3 separate regions of the Homo sapiens genome follow, and all the other regions are linked to region 1. Evidence: promoter capture Hi-C in 16 types of primary human blood cells and fetal thymus (Javierre and others, 2016). All regions are on one chromosome and are shown on one strand. The core of a region is centred on a gene start or on the middle of the fragment in contact, and the rest is flanking DNA. Distances in the headings are between cores, read along the strand shown.

Region 1 (3,432 bases), core at 510-3,009:
AAAGCATTCATAAGTACTTGTTTGTTTGTTTTTAATTTTTTTGTAGAGACAGAGTCTTGCTATGTTGCCCAGGCTGGTCTCGGACTCCTGGCCTCAGGCGATCCTCCTGCCTCAGTCTCCCAAAGTGCTGGGATTACAAGTGTGAGCCACTGTGCCCAGCCGCGTAAGTACTTGTTAATGGAAAGACTGATAGGACTCCTGCCCGCTCTTGCCCCAGAACTAGGGATTTGAGAAGCAGCAGTTTGAGGACCATGGGGTGAGGGCAAGGACCAGCTGGGGAATGAAGAGGAAGGCGCAGCTCTGGGAATGACACCCTGAGTGGAGAGGAGAAGGCTGGTGGCTGGGGTAACACTCATGTCACAAGTGGTGCTAGGAAGGAGGGAGGCAAAGTGGGTTCTGATATATTTATTCTCAAGTGGGGACAAGCTTTTGGGGAGGAAAAAATAACAAACCAAAGAAAACAAGAGTCAGAGAAGATGACCTGGAAGGCATCCCTGCAGTGTGACAGTGAGAAGTCCCAGAAAAACTTAGGACCAACGCCCCTGAGATACAGATGGAAAGACTGGGTGCTGATAAAGGGAAAGCAGGCATCCAAGAGCAGGGAAGGCAGAAGCTGAGCATCATAAGGTGGGCAAAGTGTAACAGCAGGCAGGTGAGGTCTCGGCTGAGACTGCACGAGACAAGGTTTTCACGGTGCTCCAACCACTGACTCCCACCTTTGTAGGACACTGCCCTCCCTACCCGAGACCCCCACGTCCCCTGCCAACAGCATACCAGATCCACATATTCCAGCACCATGTAGTGGGGCTCAGCCTCCCGGCACAGCCCCAGGAGCCGCACCACGTTGGCGTGGTTCAGCTTCCCAAACATCTCCAACTCCCTCCGGAAGTCCAGCTGCTGCTGCTCATCCTTGCTCTGCAGGCTCTTCACAAGTACCAGGGTCTCTGCCACTCCCTCCTCCAAGCCCTGAGCCTTTGCCAGGAACACCTCCCCAAACTCACTCTTCCCTGTGGGTACAGTCTGAGTCAGCCAGCCACCTTCACCCAGGCCGAGGCAGCTCCTGACCTGGGGGAGGGGCCTAGCCTCTCCCACAGTGGGGACCCACCCACCTGGGCTGGGCACGAGACCCGGTTCTGCTGTGACCCCCTCCCTCCTTAGGCTTCAGTGTCTGCAGCAACAAAATAAAAGGGTGGGACTAATATTCAGCATTTTCCAAAGGGTGACTCGCATGAGAATTTTTGGTGGCTCATGGTAAACATGTCTTAACGTATGCTAGGAAAAAACGTAACTATGACAAACCCATGATTTCTCATATTTTTTCCTAGAACAATGGTAACTTAGTTTTTTTTTTTAAAGAGTCAATTTAAATAAAACATCAAGTAAATAATACTACAGGTAGTACACAGGAATGACAAAATCTGCACGAAGGGCAGTGAATAACAGGCTCTGGGGCCACACTGGGCTAGATCTCTACCTATGCTTCCCTCCACCTCTAACATTCTAGGTTTCAGGGACTTCAGAACACTAGCCCGTACCCAGCCTCAAGACACAGCGGGTGACTTGTAGTTAGGCAGGGGCAGCTGTAGTCAAGGCAACATACCCAGCGTGGTGATGGGCTGCAGGCTAGACCGTGGGAAGTGCATCTTATCACTTGTGCTGTGGCGTTTGTTGGTGGCCGCGGGGCCGGAGCCCAAGCTGGTCAAGGCCACTTCTTCTTGGATCTCTGCTGAGGGCTGCCCGTTCTGCAAAGGCCCACCTGGGAAGGAGGAGGACAAGAGCGTCACGATGAGACCTGACACTCTGGCCACCATGGGGATTTCTGTTCTGTCCCCTGGTCTTCCACTCTTGCCAACTTGGGTCCAATCACAGTGCTCCACATGAAAGGGCAAGCCCAAATGATGAAATAATGGGGCTGGGGCTGGGTGGGGGATGTATGGCTATCCCCTAGGGTATGACCCCTTAGTGATGCAGCTGATTATGACCTCTGAGATGAAGCCAACTGCAGACATCTAATCTGAATCACTGGTCCTTAATACCATAGCTACACATAAGGATTTTTGCTTTCATGGGGCCTCCTATTGGGCAAAGCCCTAAACAGGCACAAAGGGAAAATCACAATAATGGAGACCCAACCTCTGCTCCTGAACACCTGAGCTGATAGGAGAGACCCAGCAATGACCTCAAGGAGCTCCCAGTCCAGGAAGTGGGGATAGGAGAAGGGAAGTAAACAGAAAGACTGCCCCTGGGGGAGCTCTTAGACTCATAGAGGGAGACAAGACATGCAACAGCAACGTGTGTACATATACTAATGATATCTGTGGTTTTGTGCTGGGAGGAGGAAACAGCAGGGAATCATAGGAAGCTGGTCCAAGGGGCTCCAATGAAGAAGTCTCAAGCCAGGTTGCTCAGAAGACGAGGCCCTGGGAATCCAACTCCAGGCTTCCCGCTAGGGGTGGGGCAGTCCCAGCTCCAGGACCCAGCAACAGCCGCTCGGTTTCCAGAGTGCTGGCGCTCTCCCCTCCGTGGCCGCGGGAGGGCGCTCAGCTCCCGCACACGGGCACCACCTCCCCGTCCAGGGCCCCTCACCGTTGAGGCATTCCATCTCTGGCTCCTCGCCCTCGGGCTGCTTCTGCAGCCGCTTGGCTTTGCAGCGCTTCTTGCAGTAGAACATGAGGCCCAGCACGGCAATGATGTAGGCCACAGCGGCACCCACCGACAACCCAATGGTCTGGATCATCTTGTAGGGGGGAGGGCTGCCAGGGCCCTCCGACTCCTCCGGCACAGGCTTGTCTGAGAGACACACAGATGGGTCTGGGCAGGGGCTGCTAAGCAAAAGAAGCCCTGCTTCTCTACTAACTCCTCCCAACCCCATCAACAGGGCAACTTAACAGATGGCCCGGGAGGGTCACCACCTTCACTGGCTTTAACAAGGGCCAGCAGGTCCTCATGCCCCACCAAGGTCAAACGAAGACTCTGAAGGAGATGAGGCCAGGGGTTCCCAAGCTGGCTTTGCATCGGAAGCCAAGACAGGCGACACGGATAAGCACACCTGTCAAGGAGCTACCACAAACCCACGTTATTTGTTAAGCTTCCCAAGTGACTTGATAATGTGAGCCAGGCCCCGGAGAGCAGCATTTGGGAGCTTCAGGTTTAGAATTCCAGGCACTGCCTGGCACAGAGCAGGTTTTTCAATAAGCAGATCTGTAGAAGGGATCTGCTGGTCTAGGGGCCTTTTAATGGCCCACACTGAGGGGCCTCAAGAGGCATTAGGGGAATGAAGGGAGACCATGCAGGATCCCCCAACTGCCACACACACCCCAGTGGCTCCCACCAAGGGGGCCTCCTCAGTTCATTTTCATCCATTTAAACTTTCACATTATACTTTGTCTAGAAAAATAACTCTGCTGCCAAACCAAGAAAGTTTAAGAGCTT
Region 2 (3,432 bases), core at 622-3,121, 180 kb after region 1:
GGGATCAAGGGAGAAGGAACCCTGGTTGGGAAGGAGGGCTCTGTGCTTATGGGTTTTTCTTTGAGGGGAGGGACAAGATGCCACAAACACAGTTAAAACCAGCTCTTCACACCCGGTGTCTCATTCTGGAGCTTAAGACTTGCTTTTCAGAGAAATGACAGTAATTTTTCTGTCTCCCCGAGGAAAACACAACACTCCACCCCCGCCCCCACTTAAAGGAGCCCCAGGCAGAATGAACAGTGTTCCTGGTGACTGGGCTGGGGGAGCCTGGCTAGACCTGCATACCCCACTTGTCGAAGGCGGGCTCGTGCCGCCGGTTCCAGCGCTCCTTAAGTGCATACTTCAGCATCTTGTCACTGGCATCCACACTCGTCACACTGAAGCCCTCTTCCACCAGCATAATGGAGTCCACCCTGAGTACGGCCAGCGAGGAGAGGCAGAGAGAGGCAGTTAGGGGAGCCTGGGAGGGCCAGGAGGAGACCCTGCACTGGACACTTTTGTCTCTACTTCTCAGAGTCCGTTCCTCTGCCTCCTCTCCCCAGGCCCTCTCCACTGACCTCACAAATCTGTTTCCTGTCACCACAAGGCAACTTTTTTTTAAAAGCACCTCTTCAGAGCCAGGCACTCTACAAATATGCATTAATTCTCATGGCAATCCTGAGAGGTAAATAGTGTCATTCCCATTTGAGAGACAGACAAGCTGAGGCTCCTTGAAGTTAAAATACGTGTGCACAAAAGGCAGTAGAACATGGTGGTTTAGAGCACAGGACAAAGCCGGGCGCGGTGGCTCATGCCTGTAATCCCAGCACTTTGGGAGGCCGAGGTGGGCAGATCACAAGGTCAGGAGATCGAGACCATCCTGGCTAACACGGCGAAACCCCGTCTCTACTAAAAATACAAAATATTAGCTGGGCGTGGTGGCAGGCGCCTGTAGTCCCAGCTACTCGGGAGGCTGAGGCAGGAGAATGGCATGAACTCAGGAGGCGGAGCTTGCAGTGAGCCGAGATGGAGCCACTGCACTCCAGCCTGGGCGACAGAGCACGACTTCATCTCAAAAAAAAAAAAAAAAAAAAAGAGAAAAATAGAGCACAGGACAGATCTTAACCAACCCGGGCCTGTTAGCTCCTTTTCACTGGATGATGTATGAGGGAATTTTACTTTGCTGAGGCCTTACTTCCCCAGTAGTAAATGAGAGAATATCACTGCTTAACTTCATGGGGCTTTGTGAGGGTTTGAAAAAGTGATGTATCAAAAGCTCCTGGCACTGGGCTTGGCAGGTGCAAATGTTGAGCAATGTTAACTGTTAACACTGCCCAAGGCCATCACAGGAGGAATATTTGCAATCTGTCCGTGGCTCTGGCTCCAAAGCCTCAGGGACGCTCACTTTTTCTGCCCACACCCTCACTCACACTCAGTCTCCCTTCTCCGGGGCCTCTCCCTGCGAACCGCTACCTGGACCCCTAGCCTCACGGGGCACTCGCAGTGCCTGTTCTGCCGGGCAGGTACCTGCTCCTGGCCCTGGTGTCCCACCCGTTCCAGGATTGGCAAAGGCCGCCCTGACGTGCCCGGCCCTGTGGTTCTGCGGCCGCGCAGTACAGGCTGAGACAGACCCCGATCTCATGCAACGCCCCCGGCCCCGGCCTGGGCTCACCCAGTGCCACAGGCTACGTCGAGCACCCGCTGGCAGCCGTGCTGGCGCAGCAGCCCAAGCAGCCATGCCTTGTACTCGGCGGTGCGGCTGCGGGTGTCTCCGATATACAGCTGCCACACGCGCGCCGCCTCCCCGTCCGCGTACTGGTCCGGGAGCCCTTCGGCCGCCACCCCCAGGGAGCGGGTCCGGTACACGCTGTCCACCATCCTGCGCCGCGCCTGGCTCCGCAGCCACCCGCTCCGCACTTAAAGCATAAGCACTGCTGGCAGCCGACAGCCCCACCTGGCCAATAGCAGGTGAGCGCGCGGACACGCCCCTGCCGGGCTTTGGGCCGGGCGCCCGAGTCTGTCCAGCTGCAGGGAGGGCGCTGCCTCGCAATCCTGGGCTAGGTCCTTTTAGCCAGCCTGCGGACCCAGCCCTCTGTGCAATCCCACGGCGGGAGAGGACCCTCGGAGCCCTCTGCCCACTTAACCCGGGTCTCGAGGAGAAGGCGAGAGGGGTCAGGAGAGGCGGGAGCAATGAGATTGCCACTCCATCCCCTGAGATCCGCAGAGCTGAGCGCCAGGCGGGCAGGACTGGACCGTTCCCAGCGAAGGAAGGCATCAGCATATCTAAACAAAGATTGTGCCACCGAAGTGTGTAGGTATAGTCAGCCGGTGCAGGGAAGACAGGGGGAGTCTCTGGAGGTAAAGCTGGTCTGTCCACCGAATCCAGGGGCGGAGCCCGGCTGGAATACGGTAACACGGTAACACGGTGAAACCTGGCTAACACGTCTCTACTAAAAATAAAGAAAGATTAGCTGGGACATGGTGACACGCGCCTGTAGTCCTAGCTACTCCGGAGGCTGAGCCAGGAGAATCGCTTGAACCCGGGAAGGCGGAAGTTGCAGTGAGCCGAGTGCACCACTGCACTCCAGCCTGGGCAACAGAGCAAGACTCCGTCTCAAAAAACAAAAAGCAAAAAACAAACAAAACCCTCTGCTTTCACAGGAAGCAGGAGAATAGGGTCTAGAGACAGGGAACATAAGGCCAATTCACACTTCAGTTATAACGGGAAATATCCTCTCCATAGGGCGTATGCCCGCCATTAATAACTTTGTAACTGTAACTTTACTTCATCCTCTTCATTTACATAGGGTGTACCCCAAGTAGAGGGTATTTAAACTCACAAAATGTAACAGGGCCTTTGAGCCCCTATGCTCATGCTCGCTCCCACACTGTGGAGTGTACTTTCATTTTCAATAAAATCCTTCATTCCTTTCTTGCTTTGTTTGTGCATTTTGTCCAATTGTTTGTTCAAGATGCCAAGAACCTGGACATCCTCTACCGTTAACATATTTTGGCGAGCCAGCCAGCAGAAAGAGGTAAGCCCAAAGTTTGGGATTCATTTTTCTCCCTTTCCTTTCTGCTCAATTACAGGGCCGCTCTCGCGCTTCTCTCTCTCTCTCTCTCTCTCTCTCTCTCTCTGCCTCTCTCCTCCTTCCTTTCCAACTTGGGACCCTTGGTGGGCAGCGCCTAAACATGGAAGCAACTGCAGGGTTTTTTTTTGTTTTTGTTTTTGTTTTGAGACACAGTCTCGCTCTGTCGCCAGGCTGGAGTGCCGTGGTGCAATCTCAGCTCACTGCAATCTCCGCCTCCCAGATTCAAGCAATTCTCCTGCCTCAGCCTCCTGAGTAGCTGGTATTACAGGCGCTCACCACCACGCCCGGCTAATTTTTGTATTTTTAGAAGAGGCAGGGTTTCACCATGTTGGTCAGGCTGGTCTCAAACTCCTGACCTCGT
Region 3 (3,432 bases), core at 509-3,008, 160 kb after region 1:
AGAACACCAGGCCAGAGCCAACCCCCACCAAAAAGGGCCAGCCCCAGGAGAGGAGAAGCTGGGGGAGGCTGGAACTGGTATCCTAGCATCCTATGTGTGAGTCTGTACCTCAAAGGAACCACACCTCTGAGTCAGACCTCAGCAACAGCAGGAAACAGAGGGTAGAAAAAGGCACGGATGAGGAGCAGGGGAAGGCAGCACCGAGGTAGATGAGGAAGGTGAAAGAAGGCAACATTAAGAACTGGCCTGTGGGCCAGGCACGGTGGCTCACACCTGTAATCCCAGCACTTTGGGAGGCCGAGGGGGTCAGATCACCTGAGGTCAGGAGTTCAAGACCAGCCTGATCAACATGGAGAAACCCCGTCTCTACTAAAAATACAAAATTAGCCGGATGTGGTGGCGCATGCCTGTAATTCCAGCTACTTGGGAGGCTGAGGCAGGAGAATCGCTTGAAGCTAGAAGGCAGAGGTTGTGGTGAGCCGAGATCGCGCCATTGCACTCCAGCCTGGGCAACAAGAGCAAAATTCCATCTCAAAAAAAAAAAAAAAAAAAGAAATGGCCTGTGTCAGGACATCATGATAAAGACATGGGTGTTCAGGGGTGGCTGGCCTGCAGGCTAAGAAGGAACAATAATCTGACAGTGAGGACAAATTCCCAATTTGAAGATGGTGTAGCTTAGGAAAGGCAGAAATCCAGCACTGGTGCGAAAAGAAAAAAAAAAAGGAAAAATGCAAAGGTTATCCTAGGATTAAGAATAAGGGTGAGGAGCCTACTCAGATTAGGAAAGGTGACTGGTCTAGGATGCACTTGGGTGACAGTTAGGAGGGCTTTGATACAAAAGAGGCCTTTAAGTCAGGAGACCTGATATTGCAGCTGGGCCTCCAGCAGGCTGTGTGACCTTGGACAAGTCCCTTGCCCTGTCGGGGCCTCAGTCTCCTCATCTGTACCATTAGGGATTGCACTGCATGCGCTCAGAGGTCCCTTCCAGCACCAACGTTGTGAGGTTCCATCAACAGAAGGGCTCAGTCCTGCTTACAAGTTTGTGTGTGAAGGAAGAACTAGAGGGAGGGGCCTAGGCCAGATTTGGGTGGAGGAGAGAGAAAGCAGCGCTGTTCTAGGTCAGGGGCTTGGCATGGAAAGAGAAGGGGCCGTAGGGGACTGCGGGGCGGCTGTCCCAGGCGGGTAGGAAGAGGAGACAAGGGGCTGCTCAGGGCGGGGCGAGGGGGCAATTCTGGAGGAAGGTGCAGTTTCAGATGAGGGGCTGCCCAAACCGAAGGGGGATCGGGGCCAGGGGTGATGGGGGGGACAGAAAAAGCAGGACAGTGACCTGGGAATGGGGCAGATCTGGAAGAAGGAGGTTACCCTGGGCCGGGGGTAAGAGAAGGGAAGAAGGGAGGGAGGTGTATGTGGGGGGAGTCTCTCCGGGGCAAGGTGGGGGAGCTGTCCTAGCTGCGGCACAAGCTGGGGGTGCTGCCAGCCGCGGGGGCGGAGGGCTGGCCCCAGGAGTCCTGCGGGGGCTGGACGGGAGGGTCAGTCTGGGGCTGTCCCGGGCCTGGCTCCGGCCCCTCCCAGAGCTCCGCGCAGGCTCCAAGGCGGCGGTGGGGGAAAAAGGGCCACGCTCACCTTCTCCTTTTTCAGTTTATAGGGCATCTCGGCCCGTCCGGACCCGGCCCGTCTCCTGCGGCCCCGCTCCGGCTCCGGCTTTGCTCGGCCGCACTCGGCCCGCTCGGCGTCTCTTCGCCACCGCCTGCGCGCTGCGCCCGGGTCGAGCGGTGCCTGCGCCTCCAATTGGCCCGAACTCCTACAAAACTGCCTGACAACCAGGCGCCGCCTCCTCGGATTGGTCATTGGAGCCAAGCTGCTTCCTTTTTTTCTTATTGGAAAGAAATAGTACAAACCGCCAGGGTTCGGCTTCCAGAATTGGCTGAAGTGGGTGGTCCCGCCCTAAAGTGGGTCGAGCTTAGAGAAGGAGGCGGGGATAAGGGGAAACCCAAGCTTGGCTAGGAGGGCTGCACTCCAGCGTCTGCTGTGCGTCGGCCTCGGCCATTCTTCGCGGCGCTTGGAGCCCTGCTCTTTCCTTCTAAAGGCTCTCACACTTTGCCCGCTCTGCTACCCTGTCCAGTCGGAATTGGAGGAAGGAAGCCCTAATACGGAGGGCACCTTTCTTCACTGGGGTAAAGTAGCCCTAATTGCAGATGCAAAATTGATGGAGGGAGCTCCCAAGGACCTTCCAAGACACCCGCCTCCCTAGACAGGGGTTGCAGAGGAGCAAAGGGGAAGCCTGGCAGGGCTAGGACCTGGGCGAAATGAGTGGAGAATCCCTGGCTTGGTGCAACTTTAGGAAGAGGGTCCCCGTTGCTACTGCAAGTGTACTGGGATTGGGGAACCAGCTAGATTTGAGCAGTTGGGAACGCAGTGGAAAAGCAACTTCATTGTTGACTGTCTCAGGAAATCCATCCCTTACTTGCCACCCTGCTCAAGTCCGTGTTCTAATGGGTAAGACTCAGTTTATGCCCACAAAGAGTTCGCAGTCTGGTGAATCACAGATGTGTATAAACAAAGGATTAAGAGAGAATGTAAACCAGGCAGGCACGGTGTCTCACGCCTGTAATCCCAACACTTTGGGAGGCTGAGGCAGGAGGATCACCTGAGGTCAGAGGTTCGAGACCAGCCTGGCCAACATGGCGAAACCCCGTCTCTATTAAAAATACAAAAATTAGCTGGGTGTGGTGGTGCACGCCTGTAATCCCAGCTACTCGGGAGGCTGAGGCAGGAGAATCACTTGAACCCGGGAGACGGAGGTTGCAGTGAGCCGAGATCACACCACTGCACTCCAGCCTGGGCGACAGAGCAAGACTCTGTCTCAAAACAGCAACAATGACGACAAAAAGAATAAACCTGTGGCCAGGCTCGGTGGCTCACGCCTGTAGTCCCAACACTTTGGGAGACCAAAGTGGGCAGATCACGAGGTCAGGAGTTTGAGACCAGCCTGACCATAGTGGTGAAACCCCATTTCTACTAAAAATACAAAAATTAGACAGGGTGCGGTGGCTCACGCCTGTAATCCCAGCACTTTGGGAGGCCGAGGTGGGCGGATCACGAGTCAAGAGATCGAGGCCATCCCGGCCAACATGGTGAAACCATGCCTCTATGAAAAATACAAAAATTAGCGGGGCGTGGTGGCGCGCGCCTGTAGTCCCAGCTACTCGGGAGACTGAAGCAGGAGAATCACTTGAACCCGGTAGGAGGCTGAGGCAGGAGAATTACTTGACCCCGGTAGGTGGAGGTTGCAGTGAGCCGAGATCATGCCACTGCGCTCCAGCCTGGGCGACAGAGCAAGACTCCGTCTACAAAAAAAAAAGAAGAAACCTGTGATGCAAAGGCATGAGAATGATACAATGGAGGCCGGGCGCGGTGGCTCACGCCCGTAAT

The links. The method cuts DNA at HindIII sites, captures the fragments that hold promoters and counts their contacts. A CHiCAGO score of 5 or more calls a contact.
Region 2: a contact is called between the fragment with the promoter of GNMT here and a fragment that was not itself captured in region 1, in 1 of 17 cell types (M0 macrophages). The highest score is 5.4, in M0 macrophages.
Region 3: a contact is called between the fragment with the promoter of PPP2R5D here and a fragment that was not itself captured in region 1, in 2 of 17 cell types (fetal thymus and megakaryocytes). The highest score is 9.2, in fetal thymus.

The regions. Positions count from the first base shown.
Region 1 is chr6:43,142,775-43,146,206 of GRCh38, reverse strand. It overlaps PTK7 (protein tyrosine kinase 7 (inactive)), which reads right to left. Exons shown (of 20, transcript NM_002821.5): 14 at 2,587-2,790; 15 at 1,601-1,756; 16 at 775-1,007. Among named protein-coding and RNA genes, the nearest start is that of SRF, 27 kb to the left of the region's middle. RefSeq lists an enhancer at 2,692-2,781. The HindIII fragment of the contact is 2,662 bases long and covers 429-3,090 here.
Region 2 is chr6:42,959,193-42,962,624 of GRCh38, reverse strand. It overlaps GNMT (glycine N-methyltransferase), which reads right to left and starts at 1,871. Exons shown (of 6, transcript NM_018960.6): 1 at 1,652-1,871; 2 at 286-413. The coding sequence starts at 1,857. It overlaps CNPY3-GNMT (CNPY3-GNMT readthrough), which reads right to left. Exons shown (of 5, transcript NR_134892.2): 2 at 286-413. RefSeq lists enhancers at 1,423-1,472, 1,651-2,152. The HindIII fragment of the contact is 11,485 bases long and covers 1-3,432 here.
Region 3 is chr6:42,982,896-42,986,327 of GRCh38, reverse strand. PPP2R5D (protein phosphatase 2 regulatory subunit B'delta) reads right to left here and starts at 1,758. Exons shown (of 16, transcript NM_006245.4): 1 at 1,624-1,758. The coding sequence starts at 1,650. It overlaps LOC124900215 (a long non-coding RNA gene), which reads left to right and starts at 2,014. Exons shown (of 2, transcript XR_007059580.1): 1 at 2,014-2,496. RefSeq lists silencers at 1,400-1,549, 1,640-1,709 and an enhancer at 1,860-1,979. The HindIII fragment of the contact is 14,822 bases long and covers 1-1,997 here.